Linked DNA regions of Homo sapiens: region 1 is linked to region 2. Evidence: promoter capture Hi-C in human tissues and cell types (Jung and others, 2019). All regions are on one chromosome and are shown on one strand. Each heading gives the region's core, a stretch centred on a gene start or on the middle of the fragment in contact. The rest is flanking DNA. Distances are from core to core; before and after follow the strand shown. Region 1 has its middle 3.9 kb from the start of LPCAT1. Region 2 holds the start of AHRR (aryl hydrocarbon receptor repressor).

Region 1 (6,181 bases), core at 491-2,990, 1.2 Mb before region 2:
GACACAAATTACCAATATTATAAACGTGAACAAGGGCTATCAGTCTAGATCCTATAGATATTAAAAGGATAAAAGGGATTATGATAAACAATTTTATGCCAATAAATCAATAACTTAGATAAAACGGACAAATTCCTGGAAATATCTAAATTACTAAAAAAATTTAGGTTTTTAGATGGAAGAAATAGAAAAGATGAATAACACCTATCTAATGAAGCACTCAAATTCATAATCTTTAAATCTTTCTGAAAAAGAAAATTCTCATTCCAGATAGCTTCCCTGATGAACTCTAACAAACATTTAAGGAAGATATAATACCAACCCTACTCACTCTTTACTTAGAAATAGAGAATTTGGAATACTTCCTAACTCATGTTTTAAAGACAGTATTATCCTCATTAGAAATCAGGCAAAGACATTATAAGAAAGGGAAACTACGGCCAATATTTCTTATGAACATAGACACAAACATCTTTAACATAAATTTATCAATTTAAATTCGGTAATAAATCAATCGTGTAGTATGGTTAAGTGAGGCCTATCCAGAAAAACAAGGTTGGTTTAAAATCAGAATATGAACCAATTCAATTCACCATATTCACAGGATTAAGAAGAAAATTTTAAGATAATCTCAATAGACGCGAGCAAGCTTTTTGGCCAAAATGATAAAAACTACTCAGTAAACTAGCAATAGAAGGGAACACCCTCATCCTTTTTCAGGGCATCTGTGAAAACCCACAGCTCATGTCAAGACTGGGCACTGGGTACTAACAATCCCCAAGATTGTTAACAAGACAAGATGCCCAGTCTCAGCACTCTGTCCAACATTCTGTAGAGGATGTCACAGTCAGTGGAACAAGAGGAAATGCAAACAACGAAAGGCATACGTGTTGCTGGTGAAGGAAGAAATAAAGCTCCTTATTTACAGGTATTATGATTGTGAAATGGGGAAAATCCTAAAGAATCTACAAAAAAAGTCACTAGAACTAATAAATGAATTTAGCAAGGTTAATGCCTACAAAGTAAATACATAAAATCAGTTGTAGTTCTATATACGAGCAACACACTTCTGGAAATTGAAATTAAGAAGCAGTATCATTTATAACAGCATCAAAACATGAAATAGGAACAGAATTCGAAAACCTATGTAAGACCTATGCAGTGAAAATTATAAAACATTGCTGAGGGAAATTAAAGAAAACCTAAATAAATGATCTGTATACCATGCTCATGGATGGATAACTCAATATTGCTAAGATGGCAATTTTCCCAAATTGATCAATAGATTCAACACAATCTCATTAAAAATCCCACCAACCTTTTGTTTGTTTGTTCCTGGATACTTCAGTTTCTTGACAAAATGATTCTAAAATTTTGGCTGGGCATGGTGGCTCACACCTGTCATCCCAGCACTTTGGGAGGCCAAGGCGGGCAGATTACCTGAGGTCAGGAGTTCGAGACCAGCCTGGCCAACATGGTGAAACCCCGTCTCTACTAAAAAATATAAAAATTAGCTGGGCGTGCTGGTGCATGCCTGTAGTCCCAGCTACTCCGAAGGCTGAGACAGGAGAATCGCTTGAACTCAGGAGGCGGAGTCTGCAGTGAGCCGAGATCGGGCCACTGCACTCCAGTGCAGTGCAGTCTAATTTCAAGACTAATATAAAGCTTTAGTAATCAGTATAGTGTGATGTTGGCAGTTGCAGATGTACAGATCCATGGAACAAAATACAGAGTCCAGGAATAGACTCAACTATACATATATGGCCACTTAATTTTTTTACAAAGTTGTCAAGGTAGTTCAATGGAGAAAGAATATTCTCTTCAACAAATGGTGCCGAAACAGTTGAATATTCAGACGAAAACATTTGAAACTAAAAAACCTCTGCCTCCACTTTACTTTATGCCGTGTACAAATGTCAACTTGAAATGGAATACAGACCTAAATGGTAAAGCCAAAACTGTAAAACTTCTGAAGTAAGAAAATCTGAATGACCTTGATGCAGGTAAATATTTATAAAAGAGGATACCAAAACCATGATCCCTAAAAGAAAACGCTGATAAATTGGACTTCATCAAAATTTAAAATATCTGCTCTTTGAAAGACACTATCACTGCTTAACAAACCATCTCAGTCTGTAGTGACTGAAAACCACCACAATTTTCTGTTTGTCATGATTGTGGGTTGAATAGGAAGTCCATCCATTGTACATGATGGAGTCCCTCACTCTGGGGCTGTGCACTCCTCATCTGGAACATCCACAGGTCCTCTTGTACCCTGGGGTCTGTCTTCATACAACCTCTACACAAGCAGTAGTGGTTCTCCATATAATCCATACTGTCAAGAGTAATTTTTTTTTTTGAAAGAGAGTCTCGCTCTGTTCTTGCCCAGGCTGGAGTACAGTGGCGTGATCTTGGCTCACTGCAACCTCTGTCTCCCAGGTTCAAGCAATCCTCCTGCCTCAGCCTCCCGGGTAGCTGGGACTACAGGCGTGTGCCACCACACCTGGCTAATTGTCATATTTTTAGTAGAGATGGGGTTTTGCCATGTTGGCCAGGCTGGTCTCGAACTCCTGACCTCAGATGATCCGCCCACCTCGGCGTCCCAAAGTGCTGAGATTACAGGCATGAGCCACCGCGCCCGGCCCAAGAGTAATTTTTGAAACGATTATTACATCACTGCAGAAGTATGAAGCATCAAGGAATTAACAAAAATACAGAATCTTTATGTAGAAAAATTTAAAATGCTATCAAAGGGCATGAAAGAACATCTAAATAAATGGTAGAATAACCATGTTGGTGAAAAATCGTTCTCAAAATTATAAAGTGTCCATGCCACATCATCCATTTAAAAAATTTTTTTTTTGTATTTTCTAGTGCTTTGAAGCCTTGGAGCCTTGGAGCCTTGCTGGCCCTTCGAGGGCCCCTCCCAGGACCAGCCAGCTCTTACTGAAGTAACATTCTTAGGGAACAGGGAGAATGAACAGTAAGAATGAAGTAACATTCTTACTGAAGTACCCTGTACAATTAATGTGATTCAAAAGGAAGCTTCCAGCGGGAATTTTTAGCAATGGGGACAACTGCTTCCAAAATTTGGATGGAAAAATAAAATTCCCTGAATTCCTACTACAATTCTTGGGAAGAAGCGCCAACAGGAAGGAACCCCCTCTACAGTTACTAAGGCAGACGGTTGAAAGGTGTGAGACAGGAGTAAAGGAGTACGCGGACCGGCGGGTGAGACGGGAGTAAAGGAGTACACGGACCAATGGGTGAGATGGGGCAGCCAGAAGGAGCTTCAGGAACCCTTCTTTCTGTTCATGCTGGAAGTGGACCCACAAGTGGGAGTCTGTGATTGATACGTGGTGTTGAGAATATCAGGTCTCCATGCAGAGAAAAAAATCTTCAAATAGAATAAAATGCAACCATGAAAGGCAGAACTGAAAAAAGATGTTAGTAGAAAATGAAGGAGAATATCTTTTTCTATCCTATAGATAACTCTAAAATTCAAAAATTAAACAAACAAAACAAAAATACTCAGCCTTACCAGAACAAGCAGGTACCTTGTGTTCTCAATGCACTTGGAGTATAGGAAACACTTCTCTGTGAGCTTACACTCTTAAAACAGAGACAAAACCAGAGCAAGAAGCCTCAGGGGTGTGGTTACCAGCCCCAGGGAGCTGTGGGGGGCTTCCAGGAGGTTCCTGAGAACCACAGTGGGGGCTCCCTTTGTAGCTAAAGGGCCCTTAGGGTGGTTTTCCCAAAACTAAGTCCTAATGAGAAACTCATGTTTCCCCTGCTAGACAGAGAAAACTGCTTATACCTCCCCACCCAAGACCAACTTCTCTTAGTCAAGCTTCCAGACCCTCCAGGTCTTAAGAACGTTCCATTACATAGCAGAACCAAAGCCTAAGTGTGAAGGCCCAGTGTGGGTGGAGGAATTTCCTTGCTGCTCCTCCACGCTTGCGCTGATTTCCCCATAAGCAGCCCCTCTCCCCCACCCCTCGCAGTCCCCAGGAGAAAACTGACTCCCACACACAAGAGTGCCCCAGCTCCCCACCCCCTGGGCACGTGCCCTGTGGACCATCCAACCCCTTCCAGCTGCAGCAGAGAAGGAGTCCCCGCTCCGGGCCCCAGGCCTTTCCTTCCTCTGAGCGCAGAATCCTTCCAGACTGAGATGGGCCCATGACACCCCCTCTCACAGGGGTTTTCAACGTCTCCTGTGAGGCTGGCCTGTTGCCTTCCACCCAGGAACATGTCCTGGGCCCCTTCCTTGAGCTGCTGCCCTGGATCCCAGCCTCCCGCCAAGCATCCATTTTCCTCCTCCTGCCCATCACGCTTCCTCCTTTCTCAGGTAGCTGGGAAAGAACCTCTGTAACTCCTGCCCACTCCACAGCACCCTGCAGGGTGGTGGTCTCCACCCTTGCTACTACCACTGGCTGGCCTTCCCAGTTCTCTCCTGGCCAGTCCTCCTGGATGGGGCAGTTCCGTGGACTCAGCCCCTCTGGGGACCTCCGCTCCTTGGCCGCTCTCTGGGGCCTTCTTGGGTTCTGCTTGGTGAGGACGAGTGTGCCCCAGTCCTGCCCCCTGCTCTGCACAGCCCTTGGCCCTGTCACACCCACCCTCCCAGCTGTGCCCCCTTGTGTACTGACCCCGGAGCTGGGCCTCTGCGCCTCCTCCACATGGTGCCTGTGACCCAAGGATCCACTGAGCTTCTACACCAAGGCCACGCTGCCCACAGTGGCTCCACCTAAGACCCCTCTGGGAGAGGGACTCCTCTTTCCACCGACCTTGGCTCAAGGACAACCTGCTGACCCTGCTTAGATTGCCGGGCAGTATGAGGTTCTTCCCCCAGCCTCCCCACCTCCTTCCCTGGGTTCCAACTCACTTTGCACTCTGCAGGTTAAAGCAGAAGGAATTTATTCTCTCCCAGTCTGGAGGCCAGAAGCCTGCGATCATGGCACCCTAGGCCTAGGCTCCCTCTGAGAGCACTAGAGAGGACCTGCTCCAGGCCTCTCCAGCTCCTGGGAACTGCTTGCCTGTAGCAGCAGAACCCTGGCCTTCCCATGGAGCTCTCTCTGTGTCTGTCTCTGAGACCGAATCTCCCTCTCTATAGGGACACAAGCCATTTCAGACTAGGGCCCACCCTAATGACTTCCTCTTAACCTGATCATCTGCAAAGACCCTGTTTCCAAATAAGGTCGCGGCCACAGGTGCTGTGGGTTAGGACTTTTGCATCTTCTGGGGACACAGCCATGACTCTCTGGCAGCTCTCCCCATTGAATCTGGCTCTGCACCATCTCCAGCAGGTTTCCCCTCCGCCACACACCGCTTCCTGGCCTGTGCTTCTGGGAGGACCCCACTTTCATGGCTCTCCAAGTCCAGTCCTGAGGCTGCTCTCATCCCAGGACTGGGACACCCTAGGGCCCCTCCTCTCCAGAGCACTCAGGCAGCAGGTGGGGCCGCCTGGATCGCTGGGGTGCAGGTGCTGCCCTGTGGCTGGCAGGCTTTGTGTCCTGGGCTTTCTTGATGATCAGTTCGGTGAGGAGCCTTGGGTGGCCTCGGGTGCTGGGCTCTGGTTTTGGGGATCAGAGCAAGTGGCCACTAAAAGCCCAGGAGGTGGGTGCAACGCTGGTGGCTGGGCCACAGAGCCACCAATGCCCACCAGCACACAGGGCTCACCCCATCCCCGTGGGTGTGGCACTTGGGACAGGTGCTGCTGCTAGGCATGGGCTGGGACTCTTATGGGGCAGGAATATGGGCTGGGACTCTTATGGGGCAGGAATAAGGCCATGCAGCGGGTCTGGCCTGCCGGGGCCTTCTCTGTGCATGATATGTGGATGGCACAGACCCCTGGCCCTCACCCCGGTCTCAGACACAGAAGGGTCTCTGCCAGCCCGCTGCACTATGAGGTCCACAAGGGCGCAGGCAGGGTCATTGGAGGGGTCGGGGCACTCCCTGGCGTCTGCTGAGGATGGGGCCCAGCTGGGGCCAACACAGCAGTGACATCCCCAGGAGCCAGGACCCTGGGGGGTTGGCCAGGTGGCCCAAACCGGCTCTGTCTGGGTGAGGTCCGTTGGCCATGAAGGAACCAACAGGGCCAGCCGGGGTGAGGAAGCCGTGAGCACTGTGACCGAAGGCCTGCGTGAGTTCTGAAATCCAAGCGTGTTCACCCGGAGGCAGGAGC
Region 2 (5,430 bases), core at 1-2,500:
CTAAGAACCTTTCTCCCGTGGTAAAACTCGTGTCTGTTCATTTTAGAGAATACAGATAAGTAAGAAAACGAAAATAAAAGCCGTTCCCCAGGCGGTGGCGTCCCCCCCGTCGAAGCGGCTCCCCAGGCGGCGGCGTCCGCCGGGTCAGCATCCTACGTTCTCCAGTTCTTGTTACTCGTGGCTTTTCAGCGACTCTGGGGCCGCATCGAGCCCCGGCTTTGTGCGGGATGGGTATGGCACACTCGGCCCGAGTCCAAACGCCGCCAGTCACTTGCTCTGAGAGGCTGGATGAGCGACCTACCTTGATGTCCTCGTTCGTAAAATGGGTGACGGTTGCCAGGCCGGGGCGGCTGTGAGGCCCCGTGGGGGTGGCGTTTGGAGAACGCGCGCACACGCCCACCCTTCTGCAAGAACCCCGCAGACGAGAGCCTGTGCGCGCGCACAGGAGGCCCAGGGAGGAAGCCCCTCCCCGCCTGCCCTTGCCATCCCGGAGGCCACAGCCGGACAGGCCCGTGGGACAGGCCCGTGGGACGCTTCTGCACAAGGTCTCTGACCTCCGGCCTCGCAGAAGAGGTCAGAGGGTGGCCCCTGCCTGTCACGCGCCCATGGCGACCCCTCCCCAGAAGGGGTCCCAGCGTGGACTCCAGGCGCCACATCGCTCTCTCAGGGCATCCGGTCTGGGAATTCTGGCCGCTCAAAATAAGACTTCAGCGCTACTGGGTGCTACTGAAACCAAGCCTGAACATGGGCCTTTCCCGGGGGTGAGGCCCCCCGGACCTGGCGCCCTCGGCCCGACAGCGGGGCCCCGCTCCGCCGCCCGCACCCGCCCAGCCCCAGGGAGCGCGGCCCGCACGGAACGCCCGGGGAGTGAAGGCTCAGAACACTCTCGAGGGGACGCTGAGGACCACGAACCGTGGACGCGCCGCGGCTTCCCTCCGAGGTCCGAGTTTTAAGTGAGACCAGCCAGCCGCACCCCAGAGTGTCCGCCCCGTCCCGGGGCCGCCGGGCCTGGCGACGCGAGGATGCGGCGTGAGGAGGGTCCCGACGCCGGCGCCCGTCCCTCAGCCCCACACCCGGGAGCGCATCCCGTCTCCACCGCGGGCGGCACGCGGCGGGGGCCTGCGGGGGCGCCCAGGACACTTACCCAGGGCCTGCGGGGCGCGGAGGCTCAGGCACACCCGCGGGGCAGCGCGCCCTGGCCAGGAGCTGTGGCGGCGGGTGCCGGCGCTCGCATCCCGGGAACCCGCGGCGGCTCCAGGGACTGCCCCACCCCGGCACGCGAGCCGCCCGCCCCGCCCCGCAGCATCCAGGGCCGGGAGGCGGCAGAGGGCGCCCGCGGGTCCGGCTGTCTCGGGTCCGGCTGCCCCAGCTGCCCTGGCGAACCGGAGACGCCATCCGGTTCCCCTGGGGTCCGCCCTGCGCCCTTCGCGTCCCAGTGATCCCCCGGAGTCTCCGTGCCCCGAGGCGGGGGTCGCGCGCTGAGCCCCTCCAGGCCCTGCGTTCCCCCTGGGGTCTGTGTGCGCCCAGGGTCCCCCGGTTCTCCCTGCGCCCCCGTCCCCTCCCCAGCGCTCGCGGCCGGCTGTGCTGAGCTGCCGGCCCTAGAGCCGGGCGGTGTAGACCCGAACAGGTAAAGTGAGGAGAGCGTGTGCCCCCTCGCCTGCCCCATGAGGTCGTTTCGAAAATGTAAAAGGAGTCATGGTTTTTGGCGAATTATAGAGAATATTAAGATGCTTTTGGATCCTGAGCTTCCCAGGAAGCGGACGCGCGCCAGGCACGGCAGGGTCGTCCGTGCGACGTTCTTCGTCCTGGGCATTTCAGGGTCCCACGCGGCAGGTGTGCGGCCCTGGGTGCCCCTGCCCCGCCCACCCCGCCGGTCGGCACCCGGGACCGCGCGGCCGAGAGCAGGGTCCTGCCTGCAGGTCCTTAGGGCTCACCCCGCGCCCTCTGCGCGCCCGCCGGCCCCTCCGACCTCGGGCTGCGCCTTCTCCTTCCCCCTCCCGGTGGTCCTTGGCCCCCTCTAGTCCTCCGTCCGGGCGCGCAGGCCCTGGCTGAATTCCCTGTACCCTCAGGGGATCCCTGGGGACACCTCAGCCTGGCCTCGCACCCTGACGTCTCCACAGACCCTGGCCGGCTTCCACCCGTTCTCGCCCTCGCTGGGGCCGGCCATGGAGTCGGTGGTCCCTGGAGTCCGCTCCTCAGCATCCGCGGTCCTCATCCCAGCCGGGGGAACCGCGCCCTCTTCATCCCGCAAGGTCGGTTTTCAGCAACGCGGCCGAGGCTGTCACTGGCGCCCCCAGGTTCTCAGTCAAACCCCGTCTCCCTGACGCCCCCAACCCGCCCCGCGCCTCCTGCTGTTCTCTGAATAAGGCGTGCGGGCCTTGGGGCCTTTGCACTCGCTGTCTGCTGTCGGCTCAGGAAAAGTCTCTTTTCCAGACACAGCTCCCAAGGTGGGGTGGGCGCAGCTGAGAAGCCCACCCTGCCCCCAAGTGGCCACCGCCCCTCCCCGGGTGTAGCTCCTGCAGGGCAGCCCAGAATTGCTGAGTTCTGCCGCTCTGTCCCCAGGGGTCACCAAGTCGGCTCTGCTCACCTCTGGTTCCTGTCGAATAGCAGAGGCTCAAAAATGTGAGCTGAGTAAATGGGCTTTTTTGGGACAGAGTCTTGCTTTGTCACCCAGGCCTGAGAGCAGTGGTGCGATCTCAGTTCACTGCAGCCTCTGCCTCCAGGGCTCAAGCGATTCTCGTGCCTCAGCCTCCCAAGTAGCTGGGATTACAGTCGCGCGCCACCACACCTGGCTAATTTTTTTTTTTTTTTAAGTAGATAGTGGTTTTGCCATCTTGGCCAGGCTGGTCTCGAACTCCTGACCTCAGGTGATCCACCCACCTCGGCTTGCCAAAGTGTTGGGATTACAGGCATGAGCCACTATGCCACTGAGACAGCCAGGAGCCCTGGGTGCACACATTTATTTTTTGATATGGAACAATGTGCAACTATATTGCTGTATTTTTAAAAATCATTAGTTTTATCTTGATCCAATTTTTGTAAAGTGAATTATGCACAGAAAATGTGTAGCTGGATAACTCTGAGGTAACAGGTGAACTTTAATTTCTTTTTACTTTTTGAAAAGTCTACAATTCCTGTAAATTTTTGCAAGAAGCACATAGTACCTTTGTGATCTGTTAAAATAAGAACCTGTGGGTAGAATGTGATGGTGGTGAGCCGCAGTCCCCCTGCATGGGAAGACAGCACCCCCATGTCTCAGGGCAAGCACGGGTTCCCTTCCACCTACCCTGTCCCACCAGAACCAACTGGAATGAGACACTTTGTTACTCTATTTCCTGGGTACAGAAGGAAACTGCTCCTCCTTCCTTCCCACTGCCCTTGACCGGCACAGGCCATCCACGCCCACCTGTCCCCTGTGCTTGTCCCCAAAGTCTCAGGTCTCTGCAGGACCTGGGGCAGCCAGTGGGACTGTGCAGAAAAAGGATGACCCTGCCGTGGGAGCCACTGCCCCTAAAGTCTCAGGGTTTAGCAGGCAGAGCCCCACGTGGAGTCCTGGAGTCTCTGGGCACCCCACCAGCACAATGGGGGATCCCTGAGCCACCTCCCGTTCAGACGGGCTATTGGGCGTGCCTCCCTCCCCACCACGAAGGTCCAGATGCAGCTGACACCCCCAGTCACAGAGTCTCCTTTCTGCCTCTGTGCTGGGGACCCTGTTCAGGAGGTCTCCTCCCTCCAGTCCGGACTTGCTGTCCCCAGTGTCATTGAACCCTCTGGCTCCCACCCACACTCCCAGCAGCTGGAGACACACCCCTTTCTCCTGGGCCACTGGTCCTCTCGGGACTCTGAACCAGAGGCGCTAACACCTGGCAGGGATGGCAGCTGGGGCAGGACTGGAAGCCTCCGAGGACCCACCCCCAGCTCCGGGTACCCCCACACTGGAGTCTGGTGCGGTGGGTCCCCAGAGCCATATGAGCTGGACTTGGCCTCCAGTGGACCGCCACATGGCAGGTGCCCACGGCCGGCTGCAGCGCCAGGCCCCTCCCAAACAGGCCCAAGTTGGCTTCACAGAAGTGTGGGGGCAAAGCTGCTCTTCATGGGCCTCCAGGAGTGGTGACTGTGACTGCCCCCTCCTGTCCTCTCCTGGCCACACCTTTGCCTCCCACAGGCAGGCCAGGTCAGGAGCCCCCAGGGCCCTGACCTCAGAGGCAGACAGGGGTGTGCTGACCCCTCGGGCCAGGCCAGGACCCCGCACAGGCGCCTGCGGCTCTCTGGCTCTCTGATGGCGGCTGGGTTTCCCGGGTTCCCCGGGTTCCCCATGACTGCTGTGTCTCCAGCGTTGATGCCTCACAGGGAGCCGCTTGGGCAGCCCTGGTCACGCCTGGGTTCCCTCTCTCTCCCACACCAGTTTCTCCCTGGTCACGCCTGGGTTCCCTCTCCCACACCAGTTTCTCCTGTAGCACAGAGAAGGACCTGGGGAATTTTGTCTTTTGTTAAAAACCACAAGGGAGCTCCCTGCTGGGCACAGTCACGGTGGCGCCCGTCAGAGCTGCTTCCAGGGTGCATTCCATCATTCCAAGTTCACTGTGCTGGAGTCAGCTCTCTGCTTGCCGCAGGGTGAGGGGGGGAGGTGGAGGGTGAGGGGGGAGGTGAAGGATTGGGGGAGGTGCAGGGTTGGGGGGAGATGCAGGGTGGGGGGAGGTAAAGGATGGGGGGAGGTGCAGGGTTGGGGGGAGATGCAGGGTGGGGGGAAATAAAGGATGGGGGGAGGTGCAGGGTTGGGGGGAGATGCAGGGTGGGAGGGAGGTAAAAGATGGGGAGAGGTGCAGGGTAAGGGTGGGAGGTGCAGGGTGCGGGGGGGAGGTGGAGGGTGAGGGGGGAGATGAAGGGAGGGGGGAGGTGAAGGATTGGGGGAGGGAAAGGATGGGGGGAGGTGCCAGGTGAGGAGGGAGGTGAAGGATGTGGGGAGGTGCAGGGTTGGGGGGAGATGCAGGGTTGGGAGTAGGTGGAGGGTGAAGGGGGGAGGTACAGGATGGGGGGAGGTGCAGGGTGAGGGGCAGGTGCAAGGTGAGAGGGGAGTTGAAGGGTTGTTGGGGGAGGTGCAGGGTTGTGGCGGGGAGGTGCAGGGTGGCTGTTGGGGGAGGTGCAGGGTTGTCCGGGGAGGTGTAGGGTTGTGGGGGGAGATCAGGGTAGGGAGGGTGGGGAGGCATGGGCCAGGGGCCCCAGGTGAGGGTGTACGGCGTGCACCTGCACCTCCATGTCTGCACTGATGACTGAGGACCCAGAGCGGGGGGAAGGAGAGGCCCCCAGAGATGGCTGTGCCCCCATGTCCTGCTGTCTTGGGTCTTGGGACCGGGGTCGTGACGCTGAGGGTCCCTGGTGGGTGGTCGTGGCCGCTGGCCTGGCCTGGCCTCCGCGACCCAGCCTCACCAC

What was found. Contacts are between HindIII fragments. The study calls those that stand out against the background at their distance.
Region 1: a contact is called between a fragment that was not itself captured here and the fragment with the promoter of AHRR in region 2, in 2 of the 25 tissues and cell types used here (dorsolateral prefrontal cortex and lymphoblastoid cells).

Annotation. Positions count from the first base shown.
Region 1 is chr5:1,524,784-1,530,964 of GRCh38, reverse strand. No RefSeq gene overlaps it. Among named protein-coding and RNA genes, the nearest start is that of LPCAT1, 3.9 kb to the right of the region's middle. RefSeq lists a cis regulatory region at 5,613-5,848. The HindIII fragment of the contact is 3,416 bases long and covers 33-3,448 here.
Region 2 is chr5:317,534-322,963 of GRCh38, reverse strand. It overlaps AHRR (aryl hydrocarbon receptor repressor), which reads right to left and starts at 1,250. Exons shown (of 11, transcript NM_001377236.1): 1 at 1,145-1,250. The region is part of intron 3 of PDCD6-AHRR (PDCD6-AHRR readthrough (NMD candidate)); the gene reads right to left. RefSeq lists enhancers at 239-358, 447-1,014, 4,148-4,447 and silencers at 599-658, 669-1,048, 1,139-1,628, 1,779-2,038. The HindIII fragment of the contact is 29,634 bases long and covers 1-5,430 here.